4 separate regions of the Homo sapiens genome follow, and regions 1, 2 and 4 are each linked to region 3. The links are contacts of gene promoters, found by promoter capture Hi-C in blood cells and fetal thymus (Javierre and others, 2016). All regions are on one chromosome and are shown on one strand. Each heading gives the region's core, a stretch centred on a gene start or on the middle of the fragment in contact. The rest is flanking DNA. Distances are from core to core; before and after follow the strand shown.

Region 1 (3,168 bases), core at 498-2,997, 180 kb before region 3:
CTCTAGCCTGGGCGACAGAGCGAGACTCCATCTCAAAAAAAAAAAAAAAAAAAAAAAAAAAATCTGGAAAATCCCTAAATATTTGAAAAGTAAATAGCATACCTCTAAATAACCCCTGTGTCAAATAAGAAAATGAAAGAGAAATTTGAAATTGTTTTGAACTTTTTGTGAAAATGTAACACATCAAAGTTTGTGGGATTCTATTAAAGCAGTACTTAAGGGAAATACACAGCACTAAACACATATCTTAGAAAAGAAAAAAAGGTCAGAAATCAGTAATCTCATCTTATACTTTAAGATGGTAGGAACATCAGAGCAAATTAAACACAACATAAAAACAAAAAAAGAAATAATAAAGAACAGAGTAGAAATTAATGAAATGTAAAATAGAAAATTCATAAAAATCAGTAAAACCAAAGCTAGACATATCAAGGAAAAGAATAGATACAACTGACCAATACCAGGACTTAGGGTGGTAATATCACTACAGATTCTACAGATATTAAAAGGGCAGTAAGGGAATATTCTCAGTAACATTATCCCAATTTGACAAGTTAAATGAAATGGACAACTTCCTTGAAAGATATACATTACCAAAGCTCACTCAAAAAGAAATGTCTTAATAGCTCTGTTAAGCAATTGACTTTGTAGTTCAAATCCATTCCACAATGAAAGCTCTATGTCCAGATGGCATCCCTGGTGAATTTTACCAAATATTTAAGGAAGAATAGTGATAAAGAAGAGGGAATGCTTTCTAACACATTTGAAGCCAGCATTACTCTGTTACTAAAAACCTTGCAAAGACATTACAAGAAAGGAGAATTATGAGTCGGTATCCTTCATGAAGATAGATTCAAAAGGTATTAACAAAACATTAACAAATCAAATCCAACAATTTAGAAAACAATTCATCATGACCAAATGTGTTTTCTTTCAGGAATCCAATACAATTTAACATTAGAACAGTAAACAATGTATTTTACCATATTAACAAGCTAAAAATGAAAATCATATAATCATTTCCATAGATACAGATAAAGTATTGGATAAATTTCATCATTAATTCCTGATGAGAAACTTTCAAGTAACTAATAATAGAAGAGAACTCTTTCAAGCTGATAAAGGGAATGTATGAAAAATCTATAGGCAACATCATAATTGATTATGAAACACTGAGTGTTTTCCTCTTACAATCAAGAAAGTCAAGGATGTCCACTATTACCATGTCTATTTAACATTTCACTGGAAATTCTAACTAGCACAATAAGACAAGAAAAGCAGATGACATGATTGTCCCATGGAAAATTCAAGGGAATCCATGAAAAAAAAAAAAAAAAAAAAACAGCTACTAGTACTAATAAGTGAGTTTAGCAAGATTGAAGGATACAAGCTTAATATAGAGGAATCGATTTTTATTCTGTATACTTTCAACCAGATATTGAAATTTTAAATATACATTTATAATAGCATCAAAAATATGAAATCCTTAGGCATAAATTTGACAAAAGATGGGGAAAACCTATATATATTAAAAACTACAGAACATTTCTGAGACAAACTAAAGGAGGCCTAAATAAATGGATTAATAAACCATGTTTATGGATCAGAAGACTAAATACTGTTAAAATACCAATTTTCCTCCAACTGATTTGTAGGTTCAAGGTGACCTTTGGTAAAAACTTGGGAGAAACTGAATAAAATTCATATGGAACTGCAAATGACCTAAAATGGTCCAAACAATTTTGAAAATGAGTAACATGGAGGATTAACATTGCCTGATGTCAAAATGAGTTATAAAGCTACAGTAAGCAAAGCAATGTAGTATTGGAATCAAGATAGAAAATCAGATCAATGAAACAAAATAGAAAGTCCAGAAAGAGATTCACACTTATATTGATAACTGATTTCTGACAAAAGTGGAAAGGCAAATAAGTACAGAAAAGAATGCGATTTTCAACACATAGTACTGGCTGGAACAATCAGATATTCAAATGCAAAAGAATATCTAGAAAAGAAATGCTAGAAATTAAAAACACTCTAACAGAAATGAAGAATGCTTTGATGGGCTCAACTGTAGACTGGAAATGGCCAGGAAAAGAATCAGTAAGCTTGAAGTTATGCCAGTAGAAATTTCTCAAAATAAAACACAAAGAGGAAAAAAACCCAAACCGCTCCAGAATAGAATGTCAAAGAACTGTGGGATATTTTCAAAAGGTACATGCATTTGGAATAGCAGGAGAAGAGAAAACAGGACAGAAAAAACTTTTGAAATAATCATTGCTGAAACTTTCTAAAAATAATGACAGAGAGAATAGCAAGAGCAAAAATGGTAAAAGTATTTGAACAGACACTTCAAAGAAGAAATACAAATGGTAAATAAGCATATGAATAGATGTTCAACATCATTAGTCATTAGGGAAATTCAAATGAAAAGTATTAACAAGATACTACTGCAAACCCATTAGAATGGCTGAAATTAAAATATCAACTGACTATACTATGTGTTGGTGATGATGTGGAGGGATAGTAACCATCATGTTCTCCTGTAGTGGAGATGCAAAATGGTACATTTTGGAAAACTGGAAAATAGTTTGGCAGTATCTTAAAACGTTAAATACACACACACACACACACACACACACACACACACACACTGGTCCAGCCATTCTGTGCCTGTGTATTTACACACACACACACACACACACACACACACACACATTGGTCCAGCCATTCCGTGCCTGTGTATTTCCCCAAAAGAAAATGAAACATATGTCCATACAAGTATTTGTATATGAATGTTCATAGAACCTTTATTTGTGATAACTAAAAACTAGAAACAACCCAAATGTTCATTAGCAGGTCAATGGATAAATAAACTGTGATATTCCATACAATAGAATACTACTCAGCAATATTAAGGAACAAAATATTGATGCATATTACAATATAGATTAATCTCAAAGTAATTATGCTGAGTGAAAGTATCTAGACAAGAGTATATACTCTGTGATTTCATTTAAATAAAATTATATGAAATGAAAACTAATGAATTGACAGCATATCCGTGGTGTATTAGTCTGCTTCATCTATCATAAGAAAATACCATGGAATGAGAGGCTTAAACAGCAGAAATGTATTTTCTCACAGTCTGGAGGCTGAAAGTGTGCA
Region 2 (2,905 bases), core at 368-2,867, 220 kb after region 3:
GTCGAATGTTAGCAGGCACCTGTCCTTAAAGATAGAATCAAGCTGGCAGGCCTGGCCACTTGTCCCTTCTGATTCTCAAAGGAAAAGCATCACTGATGGGTAGAAATCTGTCTTTCCCTAAAAAAAGAAGGGCAAAGTACAGTAGCATGGAAGGGAATGAGAATTATAACTGTTTTGGGAAGAATTTTATTTGTGCTGCAAAAACATTACAAAATCCACAGGTCGACCATGCTGTTCTGCCTGTTCCCCTCCACAGCTCTATCTAGCTCTTGCCCCTTGTTTGTCTTAATTTCAATTATGTTATTTATTGTTTAGAATTTTTGTACTATGTAAGTTTAACTTCAAATTACTTTCATTAATTATGAAAAGTAACATTACAAACCTCTATATGGTCATCACCCAACTATATACAATCTTAACCTTTTGCTTATTGATATTTACTTCTTGTTTTGAAAAAGAAATGATGCACAGTATATTCAGTTAACACTCACTGTATACTCTTACCTTATTCTTCCCCTCTCTCCCCCAAAGTAATCCCTATCCTAAATTTTGTGTTTATCATTTCTGTGCATACTGTAATCCATAAATAATATGTAGTATTTTTTCATGTTTTAAAAATTACATAAAGAATATTATATTGTTCATACAATTCTACCACTCCTTTTGCTCCAAATTATTTCAGCTTTTTTTTTTTTTTTTTTGAGATGGAGTCTCACTCTGTCACCCAGGTTAGAGTGCAGTGGCGCGATCTTGGCTCACTACAACCTGTGCCTTCTGGGTTCAAGCTATTCTCCCGCCTCAGCTTCCCCAGTAGCTGGGATTACAGGCAAGCACCACCATACCCAATTATGTTTTGTATTTTTAGTAGAGACGGGTTTCACCACATTGGCCAAGCTGGTGTCAAACTCCTGACCTCGTGATCTGCCCGCCTCAGCCTCCTGAAGTGCTGGGCTTACAGGCATGAGCCACTGCACCTGGCCTATATTTAAGCTTTTTTGAGGTATAATTTATATATAATAAATTCCACTTTTAGGTGGTTCATTTTGACGAATTTTGATAATTATATCAATTGTTTAACCACCAATATAAGCTATAGAAAAATTCCTTCATCGGAAAAAGGTTTTTTGTGCCCCTTTGATCCCTGGTTCCTGTCCAGATCTTCCATGTAAGCATCAGGTAGAGGTGTAAGGAAAGAGTTGGCAGGAGAGTGCAGCCTTCTCCTATGGAAGCATACCACGCTAACACTCACTAGTAAGAATTCTATGGCAGCCATCTCTTCTCACTGCTGCGATAAATGTCCAACAGCTTGTTTCTGTCCTGCTGTCCTCAGAATGACCTGTCAACCTTGGGTCTTAGCTCACCAGGTGGCCTTGCAACCTCAGCTCACTAATGGGCTGCAAACATCATGATTTTGCAGACTCTCTGGTTTGTTCTCATTGTTAGAGTGGAAGGGGTTTTCTCTTGTGGCCTTCTTCATCTTAAGCGTAAGCCAAAGCTTCTTTAGATGGATAATAGTGGATATCAAACACTTTGTTGTGTAAATTATCTTGGGTGGAACAGTTTTATTTTAAATAGTCTATATTTATATTTGCACAAAGTTATGTATTGTGCAGTGGCCTGAATCTCCAGTGAAAAATTTTAGATCTCAATTTTAAGATGTGCTGGGTTTTTCAAAATTCTCCTAAGAGGTAAGCAGGTAAAAAGTAGGTAAAAATACTTATATCATGCACAACCCCTATAAAGCTTACATATTCCCAGATTCTAGTGGGAAATATAGGTTACCATATAGTGTCATACATTTTAGAAGAGAAGTAGTTTCAGAGAATTGTGAGAGAACAGAATATAAGTGTTTTGGTTAACCTCGGTATGCTGGGACTTCCGGGTTGATGCTTGGAAAAATAATTTCTTTCTAGTGCTCCATATCAGGCGTCAGCAAACTTTTCTGAAAAAGAACAGACAATAAACATTTTAGGTTTTGCAAGTCATATAATCTTTGTTGCAACTAATCAGTTCCCTTGTTATAATAAGAAAGCAGCCATAAACAGTATGTGAATGAATGGGTGCACAGTGTTTCAATAAAACTTTATTTACAAAAACAGGCAGTGGGCAGGATTTGGTGTACAGATCATAGCCTATAGACCTCCTCTCAATTGTGATCAATTACGTGTCCATCTAAAAACCATGTAATACGTAGTAAAGTTCAGAAATTGTCACGATGTGCAGTATATAGAGGTGAGTGACATAAGTATTCTGTCAAGAAACTCACAAACCAGAAGGCGAGAATGATGTGAAAATAAATAATTATAACAAAATGTATTAAGTGCTGTGAAGCATGTATACAACACAAAGCTAGGATAGAAATGAGTATGGAGGCAGGGTGCAGTGGCTCATATCTGTAATCCCAACAATTTGGGAGGCTGAGGAATGAGGATCACTTGAGCCCAGGAATTCTGAGATCAGCCTGGGCAACAAAGGGAGAGCCTGTCTCTACAAAAAATTTAAAAATTAGCCCATCATAGTGGTGCACACCTATAGTCATAGGTACTTGTGAGGCTGAGGTGGGAGGATCATTTAATCCTGAGAGGCTGAGGCTGCAGTGAGCCATGGAGATGCCACTGCACTCCAGACTGGGTGACCGACTGAGACCCTCCAAAAGAAAAGAAAAATAAATAAAAAGAAAAGGGAAGGGAAGAGGAAGGGGAAAGGAAAGGAAAAAGAAAAGGACTGTGGCTAAGGCCAGATGCAGTGGCCTGCAATCTCAGCATTTTGGAAGGCCGAGGTGAGTGGATCACTTGAGGTCAGGAGTCCAATACCAGCCTAGGCAACATGGCGAAACCCCGTCTCTAATAAAAATAAATTTTAAAAAAATTAGCTGGACATAGTTGTACATGCCTGTAGTCCCAGC
Region 3 (2,891 bases), core at 159-2,658:
GTCTCGGCCTCCCAAAGTGCTGGGATTACAGGCGTGAGCCACCGCGCCCGGCCGAAGTATTTGTTTCTAACAAGAGCATTCTGGACATTAAAGGGCCTTAGAGTATGAGAGAAAAAAGCCAGAAAAAAAAAAGGAATAGTAATAATAATTTTTTAAAAAGTAGAAATAAAAAGGTAAGGAGTTAACATCCATTAGATTCCATTTTCTATTCAAATATGTATATTTACATACAGTACTGCTGAATTGACTCACAGTTCTTAGGTCCTATAGAGGAGTGCAGTGAAAAGGAAGACAATTTACACAGTACAGAGCTGAACATAGGACTTACAAACAAAAAAAAAGTCAAGGAATACAAAGTAGCTTTCCCAGGTGTAAAGTACCGGGTCTAGAATTCTATGAGGCTAGGGAGAAGATAAACGACAAAAGCTATAAGAGATCAGAATGAAAAGAGATCCACAAGCCTAAGAAGCCCAGGCCCTTGAGGAGAACCATGAATTTGAGCAGGATTTCACTAATTCCTTTAAAAAGTAGCCATTGCCTCAAAGTACGACTCCATCAGCATAGGCAGGAAAGTGGGAGTGAGGAAAGGCTTAGAGTTTTCCAGCCTGGCTGGGGTCAGACAATTTGCCTGGGGAAATAGTGGGAGCTGAGGTTGAAAAGACCGATTGGCTTCACGTTTGTGGCAGGCCTTGTCCAAAAAGCAATAGGAAGTCGTTGAAAGGTTTTGTGCAGGGGAGCGACAGGATTAAGGCACTACTTAGTAGGAAGTCATATCAAAAGCAGCAACCTGACAAATGGCAAATACGACAGAAGGAAAAAAAATAACAGGAATTTTCTTCACAATGACTCGACTTTGAGGTAATAAATGCCTGAGCCACATTGGAAGCAGGGGTCTCAGAAGGAAGGCGCAGATGGGAAAGGCTTTTCTGGGCGGTGGCGTTTCAATGCAAGGAGGGCGCTTGAATCACTGACAGACTTCAAGTTAAGGGAGTTTTCGTGGCTGAGGTTAGTAAGTCACACGCACAGCTCTCCAAAGGCATGTATGGGGAACGCCAGCCTTGGCTAAAAGACTGATTCAAGTTATGTCCGTCACCCTGAGCAACCAAAACCACCCACTACAGGGCAGGTGACCCCACAAAGCAAACCAAGCCATCTGGTCCACGCTCCCCACCTCCCGGAGGGAGATGGAAAAGTTTCGGGAGTAGTCCCCGGCCAATCGGAAAGACATTTTTTCATTCCTCAACCACTACTCTCAGGTGCTCCAGGGAGGGAGGATGACTTCCTGACGGTCCTCCTGCCGCTCCTCCCTCGGGCCAATTATGAAACTCTGGGCACTCTTGACCTCACCCCGTTAGGGCCCGGGAGGGGCTCCCTAGTATAAAGTTCGCAGCACCAGACAGTTGAGCTCACTTGCCTGATATTTCCAGTGTCAGAGGGACACAGCCAACGTGGGGTCCCTTCTAGGCTGACAGCCGCTCTCCAGCCACTGCCGCGAGCCCGTCTGCTCCCGCCCTGCCCGTGCACTCTCCGCAGCCGCCCTCCGCCAAGCCCCAGCGCCCGCTCCCATCGCCGATGACCGCGGGGAGGAGGATGGAGATGCTCTGTGCCGGCAGGGTCCCTGCGCTGCTGCTCTGCCTGGGTAAGTTCTCCCCCTCTGGCTTCCGGCCGCCCCAAAGAGGAGACAAATAAGGAAGGCTCCTGTGCATTTGTCATTCGACAAGTACGGAGTTGTCTCCAGGTTCAAGTGTGCTCTATTTAAAATTACGTCTTGTTTTGTGAGTCTGTCTTCCCCTATGGTGGGACTGGGGTGGGGGGGACTGGGGATCGATGTTAAAATGCTTTTTATTGGTGAATTAATTATTGGCATATATGTTATGCATGGATTGAAATATCTCCTTATTAAACAAAATAAAAAGTTGTTGAAAAAGCTTTTTTTTTTTTTTTGAAAAGTTGCCAGTCCTAGAAATCTAAAGGCCTGGAACGCACTGTTAACATTTCATGTCTTGTTCCTTTTTGTTGGAGAGTGGGGAATAGAAACTAGCGTAAGAAATTTTTTGGAGGGGGGAAAAAGCTTTTCTCCTCTGTCTTGCGCTCAGTTTTCTAAAACCTAGCCTGGTTTAGCTTTCCCGGAGGAGCTGGTATGCGCCAGTGCCAGTTGGCTGAGCTCCAGACACAAGAGAAATAAAACACTGGTCGAGGGTATCTGGAGCAGAAGGGCCCTGGGCAGGTCCTGGCGCTCCCCACCGCCCTTCGCCCCTACACCTGCTGCTTGCGTTTTTCCCTGCAGCCTCCCAAGCAGCCTCTGGAGCAAGCGTTCTGCACTTGCTGCTAATTGCACTCCATAGCCTGTGATCGCTGAGGGTATTTAAATGCCAGTCTTCCTATTTGAGATGATTTAGTTCAAGGGGAAAAATTTTCTAAATAGCCTTTCTGTTAAAAAAAAATTACTTCTTTCCAATTCCTTAAACTTCAGTTTAAGGAATTTGAAAGAGTTTGAAGTCGTATATGAATATCTTAATAAAAAAATAAAAGTTACCACCAGTCTCATATTCTCCCTGGAGTTGGAATGAGGCTGATTCCCCAGACACTCTAACTCTACCTGTGAAGGATGTGACTGTTAAATTATTATTTTGGCACACCTTATCTCAGGGGTTGAGAGACCTAATGAAATGCATACTATGCATAATTGAAACTTACAAGTCTAAGTCCAGGAACACAAGTGGAAACTAGATATGTGGTTTCTGCCAAAACTGAGCTAAGAAAGACTTGCTAGAAGATTCTCAGTAAACAATGTGGCTTTGCTGTCTTTGTTTTGAAAAGAATTAAATTAGAAAGGTGACAGTCTTCCTAGAGTTAGAAATTAACCTCGAGGTCAGAATAACTTAGCACTT
Region 4 (2,822 bases), core at 250-2,749, 240 kb after region 3:
CTTTCTCTCTTGCTCTCATATTTATTTCTTATGTTCTGGGTAGTATGCAGATTCTCACCTAAAGACTTTGGCATATCACAAGGAAGAGATAATAGTCATTTACCAAGTGAAAAAGAATAAAGAGAATTCACCTGTCATTTGCATAATTTCAACACAAAAAAATCAAAATCAGTCCATTTTGCTCTTTTAGAAACCAAGTTATAATACTAATATAACCATAAAGTATAAAATATTACATATTAATTATTATTGAGTACAATGCTCTAATACACACCCAAGTGGGCTCCCTAGCAATAATTGGCTAAGTGCATTTTAATAATTGCAAAATTAGAGAATGGATAAGAGGAAAATTAAGGGAACATTAAAAAATGTTTTCCTTTTTCATAAATTCAAAGGCAGTAATGTAATGAGATTATAGTTTTCAACATAAATATGCCTTATTTATTTTATCTTCTAATATTGAGGAAGTCACTCTTAGAACTGCTAAATTAAGTTCAGTTTTCTACCTGCACAGTTCTACAGCATGACAGGTAATTGGTACTTAATGTTTTTTTATTCTGCCTTATTTGATTTCTGAGGTAATCCATCAGAAATTGATTTAGTTTGACCTAGTACCAGTTACCTCCTCTAAAAAGAATTGTTTAATATAATTCAGTAAATGGAGCCATGATTACAAAAACATTATATAGGGCCTTGTTTTTGCTAATTATCCAGTCCTAAGTGTTAGACCCTTCCTATATGAAATGCAACATTTATTAACCCAAGAAAAGAGTAAACAGAAACTCCTGATTTACTGTATTGGTCATTTATTATCCATCTACCATTTACATTTAAATAAAAATAGCACTGTTTATTTGAGATATACTAAATGGATTGAGGTTACTTGGGATAGTTTGATCTTAGAATAGTATGCTTTGTCCAGAAATAAATCATCATTTTCATGTGGAAATTTTACTATTTAATTAAGATCCAGTTTTGACATATTTTTAAGGTACACTTTAAATTGCTTATTTTCTTACATTTGGATAATGATTAACTTAAGTGACTTGCTTTGTAAATACTTTGATCATCCTTTCCCAATTTTCAACATTTATGCATACCTCAAGTGTATTTTGTATCCCATCTTTGCCTGATTTTATATTACCTAAAAGTCAACTCAAAGGCCACTTCCGTTAGTGAAAAAAGTTCCCTAAACTGAAATTAATCACTCACTTTTCTGGGCTTTTATAGAAGTGAGATTTTTGTATTGTTTTATATTCTCATTTGTTGTTTTTTGATTACTCAGCCCTTGTACTAAAACTTATCATCTTTTTTCTTTAAATTACAGTGGCAGAATTTCTGAGATAAGTGATAAGATAAGATAGAGAAATTTCTAGAGGAGGGCAGCTATCTGTCTTCCATGGAAGCTTCAAAGGTGGGGCAAGATCACCTTGTTCTGACCTACATCTTCATAGACCCAGAGACCTAATTTTACCAGCAAATCAAAAGCAAGAATGAATGTAAGCACATTAATTTACATAGAAAATATACCTTTCATTAAATTACTCTACCCAACATATGGAATATGTACCTAGGAAAGCCAAATTATAATTTGAAGCTTGATATGCTAGCATGGAATCGAGTTTAAGGTCTTATATAACTTGACTATTTTAAGCTTTTAGGCTAAAACAGCCTGGTGAATTAATCTTCAAACCAAGACTGTCCATGTCAGGAAGGCAATCCTACTCTAAGCTTATTGATCAAGATTCCAAGTCCCTGAGGGGTGCTTTGATAGGCAATACCAATATTTTGTTTCTGTAATTCTGCTCTATCTATCTCCTTCGATGAACAAGCTACCTTACTATTGTCTTGAATTATATGACTTGAATTATATGACTTGAATTATTTTTCTGCTTTCGTCAATTAGGTTATTAACTTAAGTCTTAATGGTAATTTTCTTCACTTCATAGTTTTTTCTCTTCAAACTCTTGGTCATGTGAGATACAGGTGATGGAATCTTTCCCAGGTGTTCTTGTGGTCCTACTACAATAGTTACGGATGTTTAAATATTGCTTTCTGTAAAATCTCCAGTAAGCTCCAAATTAATCCACATCTCAGATCCAAGATGCCATCTATGGATTTAATCTATGGATTAAAGTAGACATCATCAATTTAATAATATTCTAACAGGACAAAAAACCACCAGAAAAATATATATATATATATATAGATTATAAGACTTATTCAGAATTAGAAGCATTAAAATGTGAACTTGTCTTAGAATGAGGGAAACATGGGACAAGAATAATCTATAATCCTTTAACTCTTTAATATCTTGGGAGTATTCTATAGACTGTCTTACTTGACATTAGGGTGTCCCTCTATTCTTGTCGTTTATCTGGCCAGTGTGTGTTTCTTCCCAGTCTCCCTTCATCCTTCTCATGAACTCTCTTTATCCAACATTCCCCCTCCAAGCCCTTAAATACTGGGCTTTTCCACATGTCTTTTGTTGTCACTCTTTCTTCTAGCATAATTAATTCTCCTTGAGGAATATCATCTTTGCCCAATACTTTACCAAATTATATATCGATAGCATTAATATTTTTAAATAAAATGTATTCATACTTCAGAAGTCTTTCAAAACTACAGGACCATGGTTATGGTAGACTACTGAAAATGTTTTGTGGAGACAAGCAGGACCAAATATAAAAAGGGTTCACCATTTCATTTAACCCCAAATTCCTATGGGATTGAGGGCCCTAAGGCCTAGTCATTGGGAAATGACATTTTGCATCATTCCTTTAAACAGCTGGCATCTGAGCTCTAACTGCTTGGCTCCTGCC

The links. The method cuts DNA at HindIII sites, captures the fragments that hold promoters and counts their contacts. A CHiCAGO score of 5 or more calls a contact.
Region 1: a contact is called between a fragment that was not itself captured here and the fragment with the promoter of EREG in region 3, in 1 of 17 cell types (megakaryocytes). The highest score is 5.2, in megakaryocytes.
Region 2: a contact is called between a fragment that was not itself captured here and the fragment with the promoter of EREG in region 3, in 2 of 17 cell types (M2 macrophages and total B cells). The highest score is 5.4, in M2 macrophages.
Region 4: a fragment that was not itself captured here is called in contact with the fragment with the promoter of EREG in region 3 in 6 of 17 cell types (total B cells, non-activated CD4 T cells, total CD4 T cells and 3 more); the score reaches 8.4 in total B cells.

What each region holds. Positions count from the first base shown.
Region 1 is chr4:74,185,118-74,188,285 of GRCh38, forward strand. The region is part of intron 3 of MTHFD2L (methylenetetrahydrofolate dehydrogenase (NADP+ dependent) 2 like); the gene reads left to right. Among named protein-coding and RNA genes, the nearest start is that of MTHFD2L, 29 kb to the left of the region's middle. The HindIII fragment of the contact is 718 bases long and covers 1,389-2,106 here.
Region 2 is chr4:74,586,472-74,589,376 of GRCh38, forward strand. No RefSeq gene overlaps it. Among named protein-coding and RNA genes, the nearest start is that of AREG, 140 kb to the left of the region's middle. The HindIII fragment of the contact is 248 bases long and covers 1,494-1,741 here.
Region 3 is chr4:74,363,737-74,366,627 of GRCh38, forward strand. It overlaps EREG (epiregulin), which reads left to right and starts at 1,409. Exons shown (of 5, transcript NM_001432.3): 1 at 1,409-1,639. The coding sequence starts at 1,573. LOC105377276 (a long non-coding RNA gene) reads right to left here and starts at 1,605. Exons shown (of 3, transcript NR_188415.1): 1 at 1,415-1,605. The HindIII fragment of the contact is 3,301 bases long and covers 1-1,926 here.
Region 4 is chr4:74,603,693-74,606,514 of GRCh38, forward strand. No RefSeq gene overlaps it. Among named protein-coding and RNA genes, the nearest start is that of AREG, 160 kb to the left of the region's middle. The HindIII fragment of the contact is 191 bases long and covers 1,405-1,595 here.